2 separate regions of the Homo sapiens genome follow, and region 2 is linked to region 1. The links are contacts of gene promoters, found by promoter capture Hi-C in human tissues and cell types (Jung and others, 2019). All regions are on one chromosome and are shown on one strand. Each heading gives the region's core, a stretch centred on a gene start or on the middle of the fragment in contact. The rest is flanking DNA. Distances are from core to core; before and after follow the strand shown. Region 1 holds the start of LACRT (lacritin). Region 2 holds the start of PPP1R1A (protein phosphatase 1 regulatory inhibitor subunit 1A).

Evidence for each region. The method cuts DNA at HindIII sites, captures the fragments that hold promoters and counts their contacts. A contact is called where the count stands out against the background at its distance.
Region 2: a contact is called between the fragment with the promoter of PPP1R1A here and the fragment with the promoter of LACRT in region 1, in 1 of the 25 tissues and cell types used here (liver).

What each region holds. Positions count from the first base shown.
Region 1 is chr12:54,632,286-54,637,438 of GRCh38, reverse strand. It overlaps LACRT (lacritin), which reads left to right and starts at 2,544. Exons shown (of 5, transcript NM_033277.2): 1 at 2,544-2,655; 2 at 4,206-4,259; 3 at 5,058-5,153. The coding sequence starts at 2,598. The HindIII fragment of the contact is 5,914 bases long and covers 470-5,153 here.
Region 2 is chr12:54,585,569-54,590,721 of GRCh38, reverse strand. It overlaps PPP1R1A (protein phosphatase 1 regulatory inhibitor subunit 1A), which reads left to right and starts at 2,063. Exons shown (of 7, transcript NM_006741.4): 1 at 2,063-2,317. The coding sequence starts at 2,234. The HindIII fragment of the contact is 17,679 bases long and covers 1-5,153 here.

The sequences.
Region 1 (5,153 bases), core at 1,295-3,794:
CCACGTAGGTCTCTCCACAGGACAGCCTCACACATGGCCACTCACTTCATCAGAGCAAGCTGAGAAGATCCAGAGACAGAGTGTGTGTAAACAAGACTAAAGTCATAGTCTCAGAACTGACTACCTCATCACTTTGCCATCTTCTATTTGTTAGGAGTGAATCTCGAGACCCAGCCCAGTTAAGCAGAGGAAATTACAGCAGGGCACCAATGCCAAGACGTAGGCATCACCAGGAGCTATCTCTGAAGTCGTCCTACCACACATGCCAAAGCAAGAGAGGGAGCAGGAGGAACAAATGCCTTAATCTCTCCCTTTTCCCACCCTCCCATCTCCCACCTGTGTCTCCCATTGGCCAAACTCAACTCGAAGCTAGAGGGCATGGGAGCCCAGGTGATACAGCCCATAGAGGCATCCTTCCAGACCAGTGCAGAGATGAGAGAGAATAAACCTGAGGCAGAGGGGAGAGAGGTACAACGAGCAGCCCATGAGACAAGACACAGATCAGCGAACTGACAGTCATCATGGAGGTCAGATAACCTAGAAAACAAGACATCACACAGAGCAGCCCCTCACCCATATCCATGAGGTCCGTCAAGACATTGCACAGAGCAGCCTCTCACCCATATCCATGAGGTCTGCCTCTTTAATCTATGCACCCAATTCTTTCCCAGGCTCTATAATTTGGGGTAACATTTCTCTGGGCCCTGTTATAGAATAATGAAAATTTTCTATAAAACAAATGTCCTTACTTTCACCTCATCCCTATTTATGTAAATGCTTGCCTCTTTAATTACTGAGGCCAGGAGGAAGATTTGGGAGAGGAAAGGGCTATGCGGTGACATTTGGAAAGACCCTGCTCTGTGACAGTTCTAGTGTTGACGCCAAAGTTCTCATTTCCTCTTAGAAAAGTCTTGTGCAAATAGCATAATTTGCTCCTGTTGACTTTTTTAATGTGCTCATGGAGACTGCTCGGGATCTAGATCTGTTTGGGATCTGCAGGACTTCTCCTTCTGCAGTGTACACACACGTGCACACACGTATGTGCACATACCCAGGGCACTGGTGCCATCAAAACTTTCTCTTGTTCTTCAGCCTTCCCCATTCCAGGTAAGGCCACCACCACCTTCAAGGCTCCCAGGCCCAGACCCTCAGGCAGGTAGCAATTGCCAAGGCTTTAATGTCCCACCCCATTAATTTTATCTTCCTTTATCTCCTGAAAAGATTAATGTTCTAAACCCTGGCACCCAAAACACCCTCATGTTGAAAACTCTTCAATACCCCCTTCTCACACTCATCTTCAGAGCTACCATGAGGCAGAGAAGCCTCCGGAATCAGCCCACATGGGGCTGGGTGAATGCCAACACCAAGCAAGGGGAAAGTCACAAATTGACATCCAGCACCTTATTCTCCACCCTTCAGCCCCTCAACTGACTCCTGCTCCACGGCCCGTTCTATTAATATCTAGCATTTAGCACCAGCCTGGACAAAAACCTACTTGGAAAGATGGTACAAGAACCCCACACAACTCCATAGAACTTCGCTGTCTAAAAAAATGCTTTGCCGTATATTATCCCACTTAATCTCCACCACTATGCTGTACATAGGAGCCACAACTCCTAGACAACAAATAAAAATCCTATCACTTTTCAAATCCTAACATTTTCATATGACAAAGCCAGAACTCAAAATCCAGACCTCTAGAGTCCCAGATCAGGAAAGGAAGAAACGCCAAGTCAAAGAGAAGCTTCTTTAGAATAATCTGCTTTTCTGGATTATTCACACCATGGGTCAGCTCCCCACTTGAAGTCAGAACCAAGCTCCAATTTCAGTGAACCACCATCATGCTTTGACCAGGAGATTCTCTCAGAAATGTGGGGTCCCATTGAGTAGGCCTGAAGACAGAGATTGACAGGCCTATGTGAGCCTGGAGGAGTTCTTTTTAGGGGCTGGATAATGTCAAGAACAGAGAACAACTCCAGAGAAGGCACACACGCCTTCAAACCCATCCCCTCATGGGGAGAAAGCAGCCAGGAACTCAGGCCTCAAGTGTTCTAGGTGTGGTCTCCCAAGGAAACGGGCTCACTTAGTTTGGGGAAACCTTCAAACCCTGCACTGAGTCCTATGTAGACTGGGACAGAAGGTGGACAATGTAATCCCCTGAGCCCTCAACCTCCTCCTGGAGAGATGACAAGATTAAGATTTCTCTACCAGAACCCTCAACAGACACATCCCAGAATCTCCCCAAGTGAAATGTGCTCTACCTACCGTCCCTGAGAGCCCAGGGGTGTGAACCCAGAGGGCAGGTGTGGTGGGGAAGGGAGGAGGGAGAAAGAAAAGGGATGGCTGGGAGTTAGAGAAAGGCTCCTATCCAGGACCTGCCTGCAAGGATCCCAGGTATCAGCCAGCCCAACCTAGCCCTTGTTGACTTAGCAGGTGACAGTTTGGGGAAGAAGGGGAGGAGGATGCGGAAGTCACACCTCTCCAGGCTTGGTTCCCATTGGCCCTTGATATCCTTAAAAGGGCCCAGCAATTTCAGCATCCTTATTCCCCAGACCTTCTGCAGATTCTGTGGTTATACTCACTCCTCATCCCAAAGAATGAAATTTACCACTCTCCTCTTCTTGGCAGCTGTAGCAGGGGCCCTGGTCTATGCTGGTGAGTATGGCCTTTCCTCTGCGCCCCACAAGAGTCCTCCCAGTCCAAGGAGCCCCTCACTCCTGCCTTCACCCCTCTCCTCCTCTCTCAGTGCTATTCTGGTTTCCCTGCCTCTGCAAGTGACTCCTCTCCCAGTTCTCCACACGTGGCCTCTGCACCCCACTGGCCAGAGGAACCCAGAACTCTCTGGCCTCTGCCTGCCCTCCCAGCTCATCTCCTCACACACCATTGTTTACCCACTATGCCTCAGCTACACTGGCTTCTCTGGTGTCCCCTGCATGTAGTTGAGCAGGGTGTCCCCTACACGAGGGTGCCCAGGCAAGGAGTGGTAGAAGCTAAAATCTGGCCGACACTCTACTTGCCAAGCAGTGAGCCTGGCCCCTGGCTGTGTCTCTTAGGAGGAAGGGATGCCTTTTTTTTTTTTTTTTTTTTGAGACCGAGTCTCCCTCTGTTGCCCAGGCTGGAGTGCAGTGGCACGATCTCTGCTCACTGCAACATCCACCTCCTGGGTTCCAGCGATTATCTTGCCTCAGCCTCCTGGGTAGCTGGGACTACAGGCTCATGCCACCTTGCCCAGCTAATTTTGTATTTTTAGTAGAGACGGTGTTTCACCATGTTGGCCAGGTTGGTCTCGAACTCCTGACCTCAGGTGATCCGACTGCCTTGGCCTCCCAAAGTGTTGGAATTACAGGCGTGAGCCACCGTGCCCTGCTGGGATGCCTTTTTTGATCCACAGAAGCACTATTTGGGCCATGATGATCCTGCTGTTCCTTGAACATCAGGATCTTCCTTCTTGTCCTTTCCTCGTCTAGAATGCTTTCCCTCTCCCTGGCCCCTTCCCCCAACCAACTCTAATGTCACCTGGCCAATGATTTTTCATCTAGAAAATCTCAGTTTACATATAATTCCCCAAAAAGGCCTTCCATGCACATGCGGAACAAATCAGATCCATGTGCCCTTCTCGCACCAGGCTGCACGTTCCCTTCCAGCACTGTCACACCAGCCATTAAATAATTTCGTAAAAGGACAGATGTAAGCTCTGTCAGGGCAGGGGTCTTGTCTGCCCTCTTCAGCACTGCACCTCCATCTCTTGGCACAGAGCTTTGCATAAATGTTGTGTTGAAAGAATAAAGGGAATCAAGGCTGGGGTCTCAATCCTGCAAATCGCTCAAATATGGCCCCATAACCCCCACATACTGTCCTCCTCCACCACAGAGGAGGTTGAGCCCCTCTGACCATGGCCAGCTCCATGACAGACACCTCAGGGAAGCCTACCAAGCCAGGGGCCAGTCAGGAGGAAGGCACTGTTCCAAGAGACATTACACTTCTCAGAGGGGAAGTTATTTCAAAAGCCACAGGAGTTAAACATCAGAGAGTGCCCCAGTAGACCCGCTGATATGGTGGAAGGGCATGTCCAACCCAAAGGGAAATTGATCCCCTTCTATCCATGAGCATTCCCAGGAGATAAGCTTTGGGAATGGGAGGGGAGGGTGGCTCGAGTAGGTCCGGTTCGGTCCTTGCTCTCATCTGGCATGTTTCCCCCATTGCAGAAGATGCCTCCTCTGACTCGACGGGTGCTGATCCTGCCCAGGAAGCTGGGACCTGTGAGTCCTCCTCTCCCTGCTGCCCTAGCCCTCGTTGGGAAGGTTTAACAGTTAGGGATGTGAGTGGTGGCTGGGAGAAGAAGCCAGTGGGAGGAGATCTGGATTCTGTGCTTGGTGGTAATGGGGAGGGGCAGGTAATATAATAAAGAAGGTGGCATGGGTTGAAATGGTACAAGGCTAAGGACAAAAGAGGATGACCCAGAGAGGCAAGGACAATAGGGAGCATGGGGAAAAGGTTATTGTGAATAAAAGGGAGAGAAACATGAGGTTAAGTGGTAAGGGCAATGTCTCACATGGCATTAATACCTTCACCTGCAAACACCTCCCATTACTCCCAATTCCTTAGCAAGATAACCATTATCTGGCCTCTAACCTCATTTTCCAACCCCATTTTCCATGACTCTCTTTTATGTCGCACCCACATCAGCTAAATTGAACTTGTTTCCATTCCCCACACATGCCTTCGCCTGACCTCTTACTCACTGCCTGCCCCCAGGGAAGCCCCTTTGGTACATCCTCTCCTGCTAACATCCTGCCTTCAAGATCCAGCTTCTCTATGAAGTGCTCCCCGATTCTCACCATCCCCTAGTCCAAATCCTTCCCCAACCCTGCCCGCTGCATTCCAAGAGACACACAGCATGCAGAAATGCTATCTCCCTTAAGGGGGCAGCGTTTAAGCCATATCACTTCTGTATCCTGGCACCCAGCACACATTAGGTATCCTGGGGCCCTGCAACCCATTCCAAAAGAAACAAACACTTTCACTTTGCTAAAATCCATCAATTTGTGCATTCACAGCTAAGCCTAATGAAGAGATCTCAGGTCCAGCAGAACCAGCTTCACCCCCAGAGACAACCACAACAGCCCAGGAGACTTCGGCGGCAGCAGTTCAGG
Region 2 (5,153 bases), core at 814-3,313, 46 kb after region 1:
GAGAGCACGGAATACGAAAGAGGACTAGGCAGCCTGGATGTCTGGGGTGGGGGTGGAGAGGTAACCACTCTGAGAGGTGACCACCCCTCAACTCTGCCGTCCTGCCAGGAAATAACAATAAAACCAGCAGCTACAATTAACCGTGACCTTCTATGCACCAGGTACTCTACCCAAGATGATACTCAACCCTAGGAGGTGGGATCCTCTGTCTGTTTTACAAATGAGATGGAGGCTCATGAGAGAAGCCTGAGTCCCCAGACATAGGGATGTGGGAATCCTGGCTTCACATCCCATGGTCCTGGTAGAATGGGATGGGGAATAGACAAGTCACCTATTTAGAGGATATTTGGGATCCTGCTCTGTGGATGTGTGGTTAGGAGGTGGGGTGAGTAGGAAGGAGGCCAGAGCAAGCAACTGGGCCCTAATGAGCCAGGTATCTCCCTAGCCCCCAACCGTTATCCTCTCTGCTTCAGGGCCTTCACGATCTCTTTCTCCACTGTCACTTCTTGTGGGGGGATCTGCGCAAAGGTTGGGAATGGAGACGGGGAAGCCCAACCAGCTGTTTTCCACCTGGCCCTGCCACACCAGAGAGCAAAGGGGCCCTGCAAGTGCAGGCTGGGTGTCAGGAGTCAATCCTGGAGTCCAGGTGACAGCAAAACAGGGGCCAGTTAACCTGCAGACAGAGGTCCAGCTGGCCCACTGGGTCCCCATAACCCCAGCCTTACCCTGAGAAAACTGAGCCCGACATGTGTAAAAAGATATGGCTGGGGGGAAGGCAGGACAAGTTATTTTGTGAGGTTAGAGGGGAAGGGGCCTTGTGAAATCAAGGTCTGGAAAGGGCTGCCCAGGAGAGGAGGCAACTGAGAGTTGAGGCTGACACCTTAGAGGAGAAGATGACCATATGGTTCTCCAAGAACCAGGCATGAATCTGTATGGCACTTGCCAGTTGCTTGGTTTAAGGCTAAAGAGACAGACCCCTTCCCCTCTTCCAGGACTCCCTGTGCCCTCCTCCCCATCCCCAGTTCTTCTCTCCACCTTCTCCTCCCGAAAAGATGCATCCAGCCCTACCCCTCCCCAGTGCCCAGCACATCCCCTCCCCCATCTAGTGATCCCCAGTCCTTAGACCGAGCACACCAGCTCCTGTGAATATCCTGTCTCCCTCACTGGCTCGTATTGACTGGCATCTTAGTCTTCCACCAAACTAGTCAGTTCTTCCCATAGTCTAACCTCCATTCCTTCAGTTACAGCAGCTCGTTTTCAGTATCCTGCCAATAGTGAAATTAGAAACCAACCCTATCTGTAAACAAGCCACCCCACCAAAGGAGTTTCTCTCTCCCTCCCCAGGCATTTTCCCCTTGCAGGCCTTTCACCTACTTTACCATCCCCTAATTTAGCAAGCAGAAAGAGAACTCGATTTCACAAGCAGGATTGGCTCCCCACCATCGTTATTCCTTTTGTCGAGTCCCAGATGGTCCTCTCTCCCCAAGCCCTCCACCCACTCCCACAGGCACTTCGAGAGAAACGCGCCCTCCGGAGACCCTCTGAAGTCTTCAGTTTCCTCTCCCTGGCACTGAGGGAACACAGGACGGGTGTGCAGACTTCGTATTTCCCTCCAAGTTTTTACCTCCGCCTAGTGTTTTCCTTGCAAAGGAAAGTCCCTCTCGAAGTCTAACCTTAATCCCTCCTGCTGCATGCCTAAATCCCCTTTCCATCTTTTCTCTATAATACAACCCCCTTTAAAATCATAAATGCAATCTTCCTCTCGCGTTTAGTCTCCTCTCCTGCAGCGCCCCTCTACTTTCCTAGCCCCAACAACCTGCTCCGGCTAGGAGAAGTTCTTCCTAGCCACTCCCCACCCCAACGCCCTGCCCAAAACTCCGAGGACACTGAGGTATCTGCCTGAGCTGTCCACTACGACGGCTCCCGGGCCACGCCCGGACTCGGCGGCCCGCGGGGCGGTGACCCCCGCAGCCGCCGGTGCAGCCACGACGGGGTTAAGGTTCCGGGCTGGGGGAGGGGGAGGGGGCCGGGAGGGGCGGGTGCGGAGCCAATCGGCGGCGGCAGAGTCCCCGGAGCCGCGAGCTGGGAGCGCTGTGCCGGGAGCCGGGAGCCGAGCGCGCCGGGCTGGGGCCGGGGCCGGAGCGGAGCGGAGAGGGAGCGCGCCCGCCCCAGCCCCGAGTCCCGCCGCCTTCCCTCCCGCCGCAGCGCGGGCCCACCGGCCGCCGCCCCAGCCATGGAGCAAGACAACAGCCCCCGAAAGATCCAGTTCACGGTCCCGCTGCTGGAGCCGCACCTTGACCCCGAGGCGGCGGAGCAGGTGCGGAGCAGGGCGGGGCGGCAGGGCACTCGCCCAGCCAAGGACGAGGGACCCCTGGACTGGTGGGACCCAGGATCCCTGCCTAGTCCTCCCTTAGCAGTGCGCCCTTTTGAGGACGAACGCTCAGTTTGCGGGGGGCGGGGGGGGGTCTTCTGTCCCCTCCCCCACCGTCGGAGCCACATCTCGAATCTGTGCTTCTTTGAGACTGACCGAAGGAAGAGCGCCTCCACTCGATGCCTGGCCCCGCGAGAGTCGCTCTCTTCCTCCCCAGTCCTGGGGGAGGGGGCCTGCTTGAGGACACGACCCCTCCCTCCTTAAACAACCCTGCATCCCCCACCCAGTCAACCCCCACTAGAGTTTCTGAGCTTGGTGGTGGCGCTGAAGGGAATCAGCAGCAGTGCGGGAGGGGCCTGGGGAGGGGTCGGTAATGGAGAGGGAGCCTGGAAGGGTGGGAGTTGGAAGAGGAGAAACAGCTCTCCCTGTCCCCTCCTAACTGGGGGCCACCTTGCTGGGCTCCGAAAGTGATAACAGGAAGGGACTGAGGACCACTGAGAGGGCTGGGGCTCCAGGGAGAGGGGAGAGGGGTGGTCGAGTTGTAGGCTGAGGCTCCCTTCTTCAAGTCTCCGCACATGGCCCTTATTCCCAACTCCTGCCCTTTGGAGTGGGGAGTCCAGGTGGGACTGAGCCAGCAGCACTGGGAGGCCAGAGGTGGAGTCTTTCCAGGGGCTGGGGTCCAAGCTGAACAATATGCAAGGGAGAAGCACTGTGACAGCCTTGGCTCAAGGGGTGGGAGTCCAGGGCCCTGGCCCAGCCTCCTAGCCTGGTCTATTTTTAGCTCAGAGCAGCCTGGCAGAGGGGGCAGTGTATGAGAGTGTGTGAGCAAGTGTATGCCTCGGTGAGAGTGAGCGTATGTGTGGAGAGGGTGGCCACCCGTGGTCCTTACTACTCCTTGTTTGCCAAATATTTGCTTATTTGCCTATTGCTCCATCTCTTTGTAATCTCTGTCCATTTGCCTAGACATTCCCATTCCTAAAGAATATCAATTTCCCACAAGGTCAGTTCTCTGTTTCTCTCAACAAGCTGCCAGGCTCTGGCTGGCCACCCCCAACCTGAAAAAAACTTTGTGACCTCTTGGGATGAGGTGGAGAGAGTGTTTTTTGTCATTTTTGTTGCTCCAGCTGTTTGGTAGAATAAGGTCTGATGTGAAGGGAAGCGGGCAGGGGTACACACTCTCCCTACCACTTCAGCTTCCCAATGTGGAGATAGGGTTAGGTACCTGCGTCTCCGTCCTCTCTCTGGCCTGGGGTGAGCCACCACCTCAGAGCTCTAAGGTGTGACTACGGGAAGGCTCTTGGTGAAGCCTCACAAATCTGTAGAGGATGAGGAGGATGGAGAGCCATCAGCATGGGTTGTGTTCCCTGGGAGTCAGGGGAAAGGCTGCTATGCCTGGAGGCAGGGCATCAGCCAGGATAACCTCAGACCCAGGAAAAAGGGCTCAAGAGTCTGGACTGTGGAGGTTGGGGATGCAGTTCCAAGGAGAACTGCCTCCCACTGGCACAGACAGGGCCCGACACCTGTATCTGTTGGGTGTTGGAGGAGGCAGGTGTAGTAGGTGGGTAGGGAGGAGGAGGAGGAAGGCCAGCTGGTTCAGGGATCTAGGAGACAAGGGAGGGGCACAAGGCAATCCTGAGGAGTCAGAGGGAAAAAAGAGAGCCGGGACTTGGGCCTACTTTCACTAATCTTCAGAATTTGTGTCTCTTAGGCCTGAAATTCTTCCTGTGGCCTAACCTCAGCCCCTCCTGCTGTGTTAGGCAAAAAGCTCCAGGCTTGGCAGGTGCTCCTAACCCAGACCAACATGGGAGGGCAAAAGGAGTTGGAAGCTCTGAGTTATAGAGCACAGAGTGGCAGGCGGTGGAGGGGTGCCCACAGCTTCCAGATCCTTGGCATGACTGCTTTGGAAAGAAATCCGAGGCGAAGTTATCACATGCTCCTGAGAGCTAGGATTTGGGATAGGTATGAGAAAAGGAAAAGAGACCATCTACTTATTTCCCACTAGTTCAGGTGCCTGGGAGGTACCTCAGGAAGTCTGACTTTCCTCCTTCCTGCTGTAAGGGTATCACGATTCCCAAGGACTCTGAATGCTTAGAAACCTTGTCCAAAGCAAAGGAATAGGTCAAGGAAGTGATGTGTCCAAGACCAGACAGCCCTGCTGCCCTCTGTCATACTTGCAGTCTCTTTCTTGGGCTCCCCACTCTGATGTTATCTCAACCCACTGATCGCCACTCCACCCTCCTTGTCTCTTTCCTACTACCACCACCACACCCTGCCCCTCCAGGATGGAAAGAAGTAGAGGAGTCTTCTAGTTGAAGGATGGCCCCCACCCCATATACATGAAGCAGATGGTCCCCAGCCCATGTGTATCAGGAATGACCAGAGACGACTCACAGTTAATGTCTGTGCGGCTCATCCATGTGCACACTTACACACATACACAAAGGACTGGTACTGCGGGGACCTTGCAATGTCACCAAAAACAGATGCCACTGAATTCTCCTGGGAAAATGATGCCCTACCCCCACATACCCCCATTCTTTGCATCCTGTTTCTTCTTTGGAAAGAGTTCCCCCCTCAGGCTTAAACAGCCCATCTTACCATAGCCAGTACCCCCCACTTTTCTGGGCATAGAGAGGGGCAGTGTTCACCTCTGTCATCCCCCCACGGCCAGTGGTGATGATTCTAAATAATGGACATGCAAAGATAAGGGTTTGATCATTCAGTGTCCTCATCCTACTCCTCTCAGCCCAGGATAATTCTAGCCCTTTTCCCAGCCCCATTT